Linked DNA regions of Homo sapiens: region 2 is linked to region 1. Evidence: promoter capture Hi-C in 16 types of primary human blood cells and fetal thymus (Javierre and others, 2016). All regions are on one chromosome and are shown on one strand. Each heading gives the region's core, a stretch centred on a gene start or on the middle of the fragment in contact. The rest is flanking DNA. Distances are from core to core; before and after follow the strand shown.

The links. Contacts are between HindIII fragments. The CHiCAGO score rates a contact against its expected background, and 5 or more counts as called.
Region 2: a contact is called between a fragment that was not itself captured here and the fragment with the promoter of SPTSSA in region 1, in 1 of 17 cell types (activated CD4 T cells). The highest score is 6.1, in activated CD4 T cells.

The regions. Positions count from the first base shown.
Region 1 is chr14:34,460,265-34,466,488 of GRCh38, reverse strand. It overlaps SPTSSA (serine palmitoyltransferase small subunit A), which reads left to right and starts at 4,249. Exons shown (of 2, transcript NM_138288.4): 1 at 4,249-4,393. The coding sequence starts at 4,282. RefSeq lists silencers at 3,727-4,236, 4,357-4,526 and enhancers at 3,436-4,386, 4,927-5,036. The HindIII fragment of the contact is 5,560 bases long and covers 938-6,224 here.
Region 2 is chr14:57,383,732-57,389,969 of GRCh38, reverse strand. No RefSeq gene overlaps it. Among named protein-coding and RNA genes, the nearest start is that of NAA30, 3.7 kb to the left of the region's middle. RefSeq lists an enhancer at 6,162-6,238. The HindIII fragment of the contact is 1,551 bases long and covers 2,393-3,943 here.

The DNA of each region.
Region 1 (6,224 bases), core at 3,000-5,499:
CATGTGCCACTGGGCTTTGCCCCCTTCATCCACCTGTCTCCTGAGTTTTCCTCTATGCTCACTGAAGACTTTGACATTTGCTTTACAGACTTTTCCTCTCGACACTTAGTTCTGCCATCATCCTGGACAACTTTATCTTTCCTGTGGTCTTTACTATCCCCTCCACTCCACTTTAGCTGCCTATCCCATGGTCACAACCTGTGCCTGGTCATTGTCTAAGACTGGCCTATTTCTGTACTCCTAAGCTTCAGAAGCACAGCCGTGGCCCTCCTCCTCCAACATAGACTCTTTCCCATGCACCTACTCCTACAGTTTCCAACCTCACACAGCTCTGGACTACTCCATTTTATCTTTTCATCATTTACTTCCCTCCGTGACCTAATTCTCCTAGTCATTATTTCAATTATTCTCTCTCCATCAACCTTCTTGCTTGTTTCTCCATTGTATCCATCCAGCAAACCCTGCCTTGGAGGAAGTCTCCTAATTCAACTTCTCTAGTTCTATATATACTCGGTACTTGTGTATTGTTGGTAAAAACTGTATGGTTTTTCTGCCTGACAATCCTTAGGCAGCTTTAGGAAACTTCTCCCATCTCCCTTTTTCTTTTTCATACCCTCCACTCTTCAACATCTTGCTCACTCTCAACAAGAGGCCTTTATTTTTTCACTAAGAAAACTGATGTTGTAAGGTAGGGAGTTCCTTAACTTACTTGTCTGTGTTTATGTCCATCTGGCTCCCATCTTTCCATCCTCCTCCTCTTGGGGAAAGAGCTACCAGTTCCTGTTTATTAAGGCTTTGGATCTGGTCCCCCAGCCCACCATCTTTATCCATATCTTTACTCTAAGCCCATAAACTTGCTTACTCCTTTCCCATCTGAAAATGAAACCAAACTGAAACCCTTGCCACCATTCTATCTCCTTCCCTTCACAGGCAAGCTTCCTGCAAAACTAAGCCTGAATTAACTGTCCTCATTGTTTTACTTCCTGTTCTCTCCTCAGCCTTCTATAATCCGGCTTCTGTCCTATCATCATTCCACAATGAAATGCTGAGTCATCAATCTAGCCCCATGTGGACAAAACAAATTGGCGCTTCCCTTCCTTATTTTGCTTATCCTCCCTGAGCCATTTGTTCTGCTGGCTATCCCTTCCTCCATTAGCTTCTCCTGTATGTCTCTCCTCATTGCTGTCAAATCTCAGGTAGCTCCTTCCCTGTATTGGCTTCCTTTGGACTCTCATTGGCCAAATGCCAGAATCTCTGGGTTTATTCTGTACCCTGCTCTTCCCATTCTATGTGCTTTCCTTGGGTGACCTCATCTGCTCTTCTGGCTTCAATGACCAGGGACATATTGAAAATTCATATGCCTCTAGTTCCATTCAGGCTTCACTTCTGAGTTCCAAACCATGTGCTCAATTGTCCCCTGGACACCTCCATTTAAGTGTCCCTCAGGTACCTCAGACATAGCTTCATCCTAACAAAATCAATATCTTTTCAGCCAAACGTCTTCCTTCGGTTTCTTTGTATTGTCATCATCCAGGATCTCAGCCTCTTTTCCTCATTTCTAGTCAGTCACCAACTTTAGTGAGATGAGGTGGTAGAGCTGGTCTCCGAGAGACACGCAGTGGATTGGGAGCTACTAACAGTGAGGACAACCACCTGGCAGACATGGTGCTAGGGAGTGGACCCAGTAAAGGAAGGGTGGCTACGGGTGATGCTTCCAATCTTGGATGAATTTTATGTAGCATCACCAGATGCTGAGGGTAGTTGGAGTTCTCGAGGAAAAAGGAATGAGCTTGCCTGTGCCTGAACAGGAACAGGGACAGAAAGAAGTCCAAAACAGTTAAGTTTGAAAGTAGGAGGGCACGTGTACCTGCATCTCTGAGGGGTAAGGAGGTTTCAAGTATTTGTGGGTTCTACCTTTGTAATGTCTTCCCAACCTGTTTTTTCCCTCGGTAGCCTCCAGGCTACTACCCACACCCAAGTCTTGTTCCGAAAGCATTTTTTTTTTTTAAACGGAGTCTTGCTCTTGTTGCCCAGGCTGGAGTGCAATGGTGTGATCTCAGCTCACTACGACCTCCGCCTCCCGGGTTCAAGCGATTCTCCTGCCTCAGCCTCCCAAATAGTTGGGATTACAGGCACCCACCATCACGCCCGGCTAATTTTTTATATTTTTAGTAGAGACGGGGTTTCACCATGTTGGCCAGGCTGGTCTGGAACTCCTGACCTCATGTGATCCACCCGCCTTGGACTCCCAAAGTGCTGGGATTATAGGTGTGAGCCACCACACCCAGCCCTGAAAGAAAATCTTATTTAAGTTGTTGGCTCCAGTAACTTTTGGACATCAAGTTAAAAATTTCTTAGCTTCTCAAACAAGGTCCTTCAGAATATGGTCCCTGTTTGCTGTCTAGGCCCATCTCTTGCTACTGCATATACATTCTTTTTGCTCCAGCCACATGGAAGTTCTTCCAGTCTTCTAAAAACATCACAACTTCATCCTTAGAATGTCTGTCTCACCCTCTCTTCCCCAAGCTCATTCATTCTTCCATTTCTGCTTGTCCTTCAACACTCAGTTCAAGCACCATTTCTCAGAAGACTTTCACAAGCCCAATCTGATTTTGTCTGGGCTATCTTGGTATCCTAAAGGATACGATCCACAAAAATATCATTTACCACACCTCACTGTAATCCATTAACTTGCCTCTCTTCCCCAGCAGACTGGGTACTTTATGAAGGCAGGTCTCAGTCTATCTGGCTTGCTATCCCAATGTCTGGCACTTGATATTACTTACTGTTTTCTTTCTTTTCTTCTCTTCTCTTCTGTTTTCTCCTCTCTTTCTCTGTCTCCTTTCTTTCCTTTCTTTTGCTCTGCCACCTAAGATGGAGTGCAGTGGCACCATCCTGGCTCACTGCAACCTCGACCTCCCGTGCTCGAGCAATCCTCCCGCCTCAACCTCCTGAGTAGCTGGGACTACAGGTGCACGCCACCACCCCTGGCTAACTTTTTGTTATGTATTTACTTATTTTTTTTGGTAGAGACGGGGTTTCACCATGTTGCTCAGGCTGGTCTCGACCTTCTGGACTCAAGTGATCCGCCAGCCTCAGCCTCCCAAAGTGCTTGGATTACAGGCATGAGCTACGGCGCTTGGCCGGCACTTGGTACTTTTAATGAATAGTTATTAACCATGAAACTTTTAAAGTTTAAGCAGTAGTATGTTTAACCTGGAAGACTTTTAACATTTAAACAGCAGGCCATTTAATTGTGGCAGTTCACATGCTACACCAGTGCATGGAGCTCCTTGTGGCCAGTGCAATGTTGCTGGCCCATCTGGCAGTGGGAAAATCTGGGCATCCAGGAGTGCATCTCTAGGGAAGTATCACCAGCCCTCACACCAATCTCAAGCTGCCTGTCTTCTGCAGAACCCACTAGATCAGCGCGCTTCTGGCCTTGACCCACTTGGTGGTTACCTACAGCCACTAAGAGGTGGGCAGATAGATGTTTTTGGTAAGTGGTCTCTGGGTTAGGGAGTGCATGGGTTATGTCCGTCTAGGGGTGTGTGTGTGTGTGTGTGTGTGTGTGTGTGTGTGTGTGTGTGTGTGCATGGGTGGGGGAAGGGAGGAAGGAGGCCGAATGTGCATCCCTTCTACAAGGACGCCTTTCCAGACCTCCTTATTAGGTGGCGTTCGCCTCCTCACCCTCTCTCAGCCCCTTATCTCCTCTTACACGGATCACGACTTGATTAATGCTTGTCTCCCAGCTAGGCCGCCAGCTGCACAAGGTAAGGAACCGAAGGCATTCCGGTTCTCCCTGGCAATCCTCCTTCTCAGAAGGATGCCTGAGGCATAACAAGTGTTCCAGAAATATTTCTTCCGCAAGCGCTCTGGGCCAGTCTGGACGGACCGAGCGCCCGCTGGGCTGCGGGGGCCCCGGGACCCCGGCCGGCACTGACGCCCCGCCCACCACCGGCCGGCCCGGGCGGGGTGGGGCGCGGCTGGGCGCTCTCGCGGGGACCGTTCTCCGGCTAGCGTGGGCGATGCCCGGGCGGGGAAACGGGAGGGGACGACGCGACGCGAGGTAGCGGCCTGGCCAATGAGCGCGGGTCGGGCGGGGCTGGGGGCCGGCGGCCGGGGCGCGCGCGGGTCTGGGCGTGCCGCGGGTGACGGCGGGGCCGGGCGGGCCAATGGGCGCTGGGTGGCGGGCGGGCGGGCCTGGCGGCCGGGGGCTTTAGGACGTGAGCGGGCGGCCGGCCGGACAGACTGACGTGTGAGCTGCATCGCGGGAGGCGCATGGCGGGGATGGCGCTGGCGCGGGCCTGGAAGCAGATGTCCTGGTTCTACTACCAGTACCTGCTGGTCACGGCGCTCTACATGCTGGAGCCCTGGGAGCGGACGGTGTTCAGTATCCTGTCCCGGCCGCGCGCGCGGGGGCCGGGCTGGGGGCGCGGGCCGCGGGGCCGCATTTCCCCAGGCCCCGGGCCTGGGGTGGAGGCTGGAGCGGCGGCCCCGCCGGTCCTGTGCGCGGAAGCCGGGGGTGCAGGGGGAGGTCTGGGGGCCGAGGGCGGCGCTCGCGGGGTTAAGTGGGGGGTGGGGGAGACGAGAACTCTTGAGATCCGGGGTCACCTGTGAGTCGCTGGACCCAAGGGGGAAGCGTCTTGATTCCTGGAGGAAATCTCCGAAGGTGATGTGTAACCCTGTGTGTCGCCTGCACTTCGGCCGCAACTGCCTTTGGTTCAGTCCCCTGTTCCTGTAGGAGGCGGGGATCATGTAACAGTGGAGCACATCGCTCCCGGCTTGGACGCCTTTGACCTTTAAGTGTTCCTGATTTAGTTGGCTTTGGGTCTACCAAGAATTCTAGTCAGTTAACTAGCTTTTAAGCCAGGTTCTGAATTTGTAGGCATGACACTCCAGTAGTTTTTGAAAGCAGTTTAAGTTATTGTATCTTTTTGGTCTTCAAGTTGGGGAGTTTTAAAAGTGTATTTATTGCTTCTGTGCACCGTCCGTAGAAGTCGGCCCGAAAAGTGGTGCAATTTGTGGTTAGTTGTCGGTAGGGTTTGAAACTGTGTTTTGGTGGATAGTTAATAAATTCTTGTTAATGACTATTGAGTGGTTACTATAAGCAAAGCATTTGTGCAAAGCACGTTGTCTGTATCTTAACTCATCTAACTTTGAGAACTTCAGTTAATAACTCAGGGTTGTGAAGATAGGCTCCCTGAAAGTCTGATGTTTCTTGTCTCTGCTTGTCCATATTGACATCCTTTGATGATATTCTTGCAGATTAAATACTGATAATGAATGAGATGTAACTTTTAAAAAACTCAGGCCAATACAAAACAGGTATTTCACAAAACATGTTTAGTTTATCCACGTTCTCTCCTTTTCAGTGTGGTTTAGTTGGAGTAGCTTACTTCAGAATAACTTTGCGAATGCATTGTTGCATTCCAGTGAGTGACTGAGGTAATTTCATTCTAAGCCTTATCAAGTGTGTTTATTTGTTTTGAGATAGCTTAAGGTTGTACTCAAAGCTGAGTCTTTTGTTTAAGCACTTTTGAGGAATTTGAGATGCTTTCAAAGCAGTTTATTTATTTATTACTGTTGGCATTTCTTTCCAAACCTGGAATTTAAGAACCAGAATGCATATTTTGGATTTAGACTCTGAATATAGTTTGCTTTGATTTCCTGCACCATTTATTTGTAGCTGCAGTTTAGTCTCACTCTTTAGGGCTCGCAAGGTCATGCCTTGTAAAATATATACTTGAATGCATATTTAATAGAAGTCTCTCAGTAGAAGCAAGTATATCTTGACTGACATAACACATCCTAAAATTAATTTAAACAATGCTGGGTTAAAATGAAACTCTTTAAATCAGAGGTTGAATGTAGAGTGCACTATTAGAATCTAGTATAGATTTGACACCTAAAATCTAATATAGATTTTACACACTAAAATGCTACAGTTATCAATGATGTTAAGATTTTTCTGTTATGTTGCAATAGTGATAGTGTCCTATAAATAACTAGGTGATGCCTTTTTTGGGGGATGGAGAAATAAATTATGAAATGAAATATAGTGCCTTAGTAGATATTTGCCTTTAATGTTTTTGAGTTACCATGGTTTAGCGACAAGTAGTTTCAATTTTTTTTTCAAATAGGTGAGAACTGCAACCAACTGACATCCAATATTATAGAACCTTATGATTTTAAACTTAAGATAAAAAAATCTTATTTCAAAT
Region 2 (6,238 bases), core at 1,919-4,418, about 23 Mb before region 1:
TCTTCCTCTCCCTCCTTACTCTGCTCCTCGCACCCAGTAAAATTGGAGGCAAAAGTGACTGACAGGTGTTGGGCAATTGCTAGCACACCTGGGGAAGGGTTAGAGAGAGGTGGTGAAAGAGAGTGACCAGGGCTAAGAAGCACACTCCTAAACTTGTGACACAAATAGGTTAGGAAGCACTGGTAAACAGGTGGCCTGATCCTCCCAGGGGATCTGCCTATCGAGTGCAAAGGGGATAGAACTTGAGCTTGTGGCTGGGCGCCTTCTGCTCTAGTCCACAATTGACTCCCGGCAGGTCTGAGCTGAGACAGGTAGTGTAACTCACCCGCTCACTGAACAAATTCGGTTTTGTTAAAAACCTGATTTATAGAGCTGGTCTGGTGTGCCGCAGATGGACGTTTTCAATATATAATTCTATGACGGAACACGTTTGCAACTTTTTGCCGTAATCTAAACTCTATGTATAAAGTATTTATTATGCTCGCAGATTCTGTGCCTCTGAAATCCAGACAGAGCACAACTGGGATGGCTTTTCTCTACTCCATTATGCGTAGAGCTTCAGTTGGAAGACTCTAAGGCTGAGGAGTAGAATTATTTGAAAACTTCACTTTCACCGCTGATGGTTGATGCAGGATAAAGGCTGGAGGCCTCAGTTCTAGTCCATGTAGACCTCTCCCGGTGGTCTTTTAGCATTGATTGGTTTGGGCTTTGTCACAGCCTGGTGGCTGGGTTCCACGGCAAGTATCGTGCGAGAAAGTCAATCAGAAGCATATTACCCATTATAACCTAGCCTTAGAAGTCATGTAGTCTCTAGCCAGGTGCGGTGCCTCACGCCTGTAATCCTGGCATTTTGGGAGGCCCAGGCGGGAGGATCTCTTGAGGCCAGGAGTTCGAGACCAGCCTGGCCAACACAGTGAAACCTCATCTCTGCCGAAAAATACAAAAATTAGCCGGGCGTGGTAGCTCATGCCTGTAGTCCCAGCTACTCAGGAGGCTGAGGAGAATCACTTGAACCCGGGAGGCGGAGGTTGCAGTAAGCCGAGATTGCGCCACTGCACTCCAGCCTGGGCAACACAGGGAGACTCCCTCTCATCAAAAAGAAACAAAAAACAAGTTATGTAGTGTCAGTTCTGCTGCATTGTATCTAGGCAGACACAAAATTATATCCAGTTTTGACAGGAGGGGAAATAGACTCTACTCTTGGTGGAGAGAGGCAAGGTTCTCAAAGAGCATATGGGACCAGAAATATTGCTGTGGCCATTTTCAGAATGTATAACTTGCTACAGATACATTGAAAACCTCCTAAACACCTTGATGTGTGGGGGATATAAATGAGATGTATAAGTACAGCGTGATCCCTTTTCTGTCTTTTAAAAAGCACAAAACAAAACCATGTTTCCAAATGTGCATACATTGTTTAAAGATACATGTTTTTCAAAGTTTCTAAGTGTAACCTGGGTAGTCAGCCAATGAAACAATGATCTGTTCAAATCATGGTGGAAAAACTGGCCCAAGAGGCACCAGATAATTCCATAAGAGATGTTTAAGGGTGAATTTTACTTAGAAAAATACCTCTCAGTAATTTACTTTTAAATGTAAGCCCTTCCTAAAAAGCATGTACCTTCACTGTAGTGAATGAATGGCAGCAGGCCTTCCTGTTCTTTCTGTGTTGCAACTTGGCATTGAGCTCTGTCACACTGAGGAGCTGACCAGATGTTGTCTCAAAGTGGTTTTCAGAAAGTCAAGAGTTGTAAGGACCTTCTTGAGGCCAGGGAGTAAATGTTAGTCACTTTGTATTCACATATCAAACACATAAAAGGGAAATTGTTAAGCTTTTTGACTGAAGTACACCAGTCTCTCATTCAGTAACCTAGAATGCTTATAATGACAAAGTAAATTCTGACCTCCTCAATAACTAGTGGGGTAATTCTAATGTCTCAGCCCCAGTGATTTTTCTTTATATCCCAGTATTAAAATTACAATGTTGGCCTTCTAAATCAGATGACATCTCTAAAAAAAATTGCCTTTATAACTTATGAAATCTTTTCTATTTGATTCATGTTTACTTGATAGGATGATAGCACTATTTTAGGCATAGAAATAGGATTAGTTCACTCTAATGCTTTAGACATATTTACTATTATGAGACTCTGAAAAAACAACTACCTCCATGAGCAATACTTCATAGGAAAGAATGGGCTCAGAGCAAGGTGAGTGTAGCAGTGATACTCTTCTGTGTGGTTAGTTGATATTTTCATTGTTTTGTAATATCCTATGAAGCAACAGCCATTTTTTCTTTTCTTTTTTTTTCTTTTTTTTTTTTTTTTACTATTGTTGTTCTCTTTTGAGGAAGAAGAGAACATGCCTTAATTTTTTAGAAGAAAAAAAAGCTTCTCATTAAATCAATTAAAATAACCAATAGCAATTTTAAAACAACATCCTGAAGCAATTTATTGAAATCAGCTTGGAAGGAGAAAAATTTCTATTTAATTCTTTCTAACAGTGAGGCATTTTTCTCTTATTGGCTAGGTTTAGAGAGAAAACCTAGCTGTGTACCTACCTGAAAGGTAACTGTGGGAATGAATAATGGAAAGATGCTTTAAGTTCCCTTGACACAGCAGGATGACATTGTTATGTGCCATAGGCACACATACTAAATAATTTAAATATTTGTGTAGTTTTATTTTACATGTCATGTGGTTCTTAATCCCACTAATCCTATCTATTATACATAAAGCCCTGAAAATGAATGTCCTTAACTTTGTTTCATCTTGAATGAAAGAAAGAACATACATCAAATTTGAGAGCTGAAGAACTTAACCAAAGGATGAATATTAGTATATTGTTGTATTACCTGTAATCTTAGAACACTCTGAGATGCCCAGGTAAAAGACTAACAATTTGATTCTTCCCTTCGAATTTGGGGAATGACAGTCTGTTCTTTAAACTTCTTTCCCCTTGCCAGTAGTGGATGGCAGTACCAATTGTAGGTAGGCATCAATTTTGTTTGTAGAACTGAGGCCTCAGAGGACTATGAAGAACCAGAGAGGGTTGTGGTCAAATGGTCCCCATTTCCATTATTTTCAACCTCACACTAACTCTTCATGACCTGCCTGAAGACATGGTCAGGGTGATTCTCACAGATACACCTGGGCTGGTGAGACATGTTGGAGAGAATCATATATTCCTACATATTAGAGCCAAAAAATTTTTGGTCTCTAATTTAGCTATGCCTTCAGCTGTCTAGAATTGTTTTAACCTGTCTCCAAGGCCAGCTTCATCCAACAGCAACTGTCCTCAACCACTACTTGCTTCACACTCTCAGCAGATAACCCTGCCTCCATTTCACTAAGAAAAGTGAACTATTTCATAGGTGTGCCTTCTACTGCCATACCTATAAGTTCATCTGTATCTGAACTTACCCTTACCTCCTCCCTCCCAGTCTTAAGAGGGTGGAAGATGGATCAATTCTTCATGACTAATACCTCCCTCTACCTGTGGGCTTGATGCTTTCTCTTTCAGGCTCCTTTAGAACCTGTCCCATCATTGTTTCTCTCTCCTGAATTTTCCATGTTACCTTTGCTAGCTACTGCCTCAAAGTTTATAAACATGCCCCATTTAGAGATTTCTCCCACTACCATCCTTTTCCTGCCTCCTTTTCACCACAAACTCCTAATCTGCAATAGGTATCCACTGTCTCTACTCAGGTGCAGGTTCACTCTTCATTGGTGGGTTGGCTTCAATCTCAGCCCTTCTTCAAACAACACTCTGGCAAAAAATCACCTGTTATGTCCTAACTAGACTCTTCCAGTTCTCACATCACTTTATTCCATCGTGGCATTTCATCCTGCTGTGTCCTTCCAGAAACTCTTCCCTTGGCTTCTCCACTCTCTCTTGCCCTCCTTTGGACATTCTTTCTCAGTTGTTCTTGATAATAGAAGCTTTTAATAATAACAATAGCTACCATTTATTGTGGTCTTCCCATGTATTAAGCATGTTATAAATAATAGCTCATTTAGTTCTTATGATAACCCTATGAATTGGTGGTCAGAAGCCAGACCAGAATTGGATCACTGGCCTATTCCTGAGCCAGACACTGGAAAGGGGCTGGATTTACTCTTATGTCAATCAGGCCTGTCTGAGATTGAGTATGAGGTGAGCTTCTCCTGATGTATGTGGCTGGGGGATGAAGGAGTATCTAAGTAAAATTGGAGTTCAGATCCTGGCTCTGCCAATTACTGGCTGTGTGGTGTTGACAACTTAATGTGTCTGGGCTTCAGATTCCTCATATCGGATATGGATAATATTACATGCCTTGTAGGGTTTTGGAAGGGTAAAATGAATTATTATATGTAAAGTGTTTAATACAGAGAATATAGGAAGCCCCCGTAAATGTTAGCTGATCTCCCATCCCACCCATCCATCCTCAACATTTCTACCACTGCCACCCTTACAAAATACAAACCTATTTTGTCACTCCCTGGCTTAAATCTCTTCAGAGACTCCCATAGCCTAATAATCAAATCTAAACTTTGGTTAGGGTGCTTTGGCCACAAGCTCAATCTGGCTTTAAAAAAAAATAAGGAAATGAGACAGTCAGAGGCAGAGCGAGGTTCGGGATTAGTTGTTTCATGATATCATTGTGAACCCAAGTTTCTGTCTCTCTCCTTCCATTCACAGAATCAGCTCCATCCTAATGCTGATTTCCTTCATTGTTATAATATGGCTGCCAAAAGTGTTTGGGGCTAAGTGCTTCTTTATTCATGCCCAGTAAGAGGAAGGGAGAGGCTTTCAGTAACTCGCAGATTTACTTTTCCAGAAACCTCTAACCAACTTCTCTGGCTATGTTCTTGGTTAGAATATATCACATGCTATTTCTGAGTCAATCACTGGAAGGAGATTAAGAGTGAGGTGAGCTTCCTTGGAGGTGTATGGGTGTGTGGAAAAGGGATGTATACTAAACAAAATTGGGTTTGTGTTAGGAAGAAGAATGTGGAGTGGATGCTGTTAAGGCAACCACTTATGTTCACTACATAAACAAAGCCCTTTTGGTGATCTTACCTTGAAGCAGCAGTTACTTCTTGCCATTCACAGCTTCAACCCAAAATATTCAATTAATAATTATTGTGTATATAAATGAATGACCTTTGAACCAAGTAACTTGCACTTGCCAAAATGTACAAGATGATTTCTGGCCTCTGTGTCTGTGCTGATGGTCCCTGGAATCATCACCCCTCATAATGCACCCCCCTTCCCTCTCTTCTCTTTCTCTCTCTGTCACACACACACACACCACACACACCTCCCCACCTCTCGCAAAACTGGCTTCTACCTACTCTGTGAGTGCTGCAGACTTCTGTGATCGTTGTTTTTCTGTTGCTTCTTCTAGAAGTCTTTTAAGGGTAGGAATTATGTCTTATTCCTCTTTTTATTGGTATATACATAATACATTATTTTGAATACAAGAATGAAAGATTGATCTTGTTCTATACCTTTTCAGAATGTAGATCTCACTCTTGGTGTATATACCTTTAACTAAGTTTACTTATATAGAACTTCTCATCTTATATATGATATACTTGGGTCTTAAGATTATTTTACTTAAAATAATCACAGATGCTTCTTCTTCTTCTTCTTCTTCTTCTTCTTCTTCTTATTATTATTATTATCATTATTATTATTTGAGACAGGGGTTTTGCTCTGTCACCCAGGCTGGAGTGCAGTGGCACAATCTCAGCTCACTGCAACCTCCACCTCCCAGGCTCAGGTGATTCTCCCACCTCAGCCTGCTCCGTAGCTGGGACCACAGGCATGCGCCACCACACCTGGCTAATTTTTTACATTTTTGATAGAGACGAAGTTTCACCATGTTGGCCAGGCTGGTCTCGAACTCCTGAGCTCAAGCAATACACCTGCCTTGGCCTCCCAAAGTGCTGGGATTACAGGCATGAGCCACCGCGCCCGGCCCCAGATGCATTTTTTATTATTAAAATGAACACTTTGAGGCAATGCGTTCAATAACAATACAACAGTCTACATACACACGGTTGACTGAATTATTTTGGCTTTAGCTCACTACATCGTGCATCACATGTTTTGGTGAAGGGACATTTTCCATCATTATGGGGACTGATTCTGTGAAGCCAGTCCAGGAAAGGAAAATGATTTTGTAATGCCTGAATATTGCATTAAAACACAAGTTATGTGAAACAAAATGTTTATTTCATTATTTTGTCTC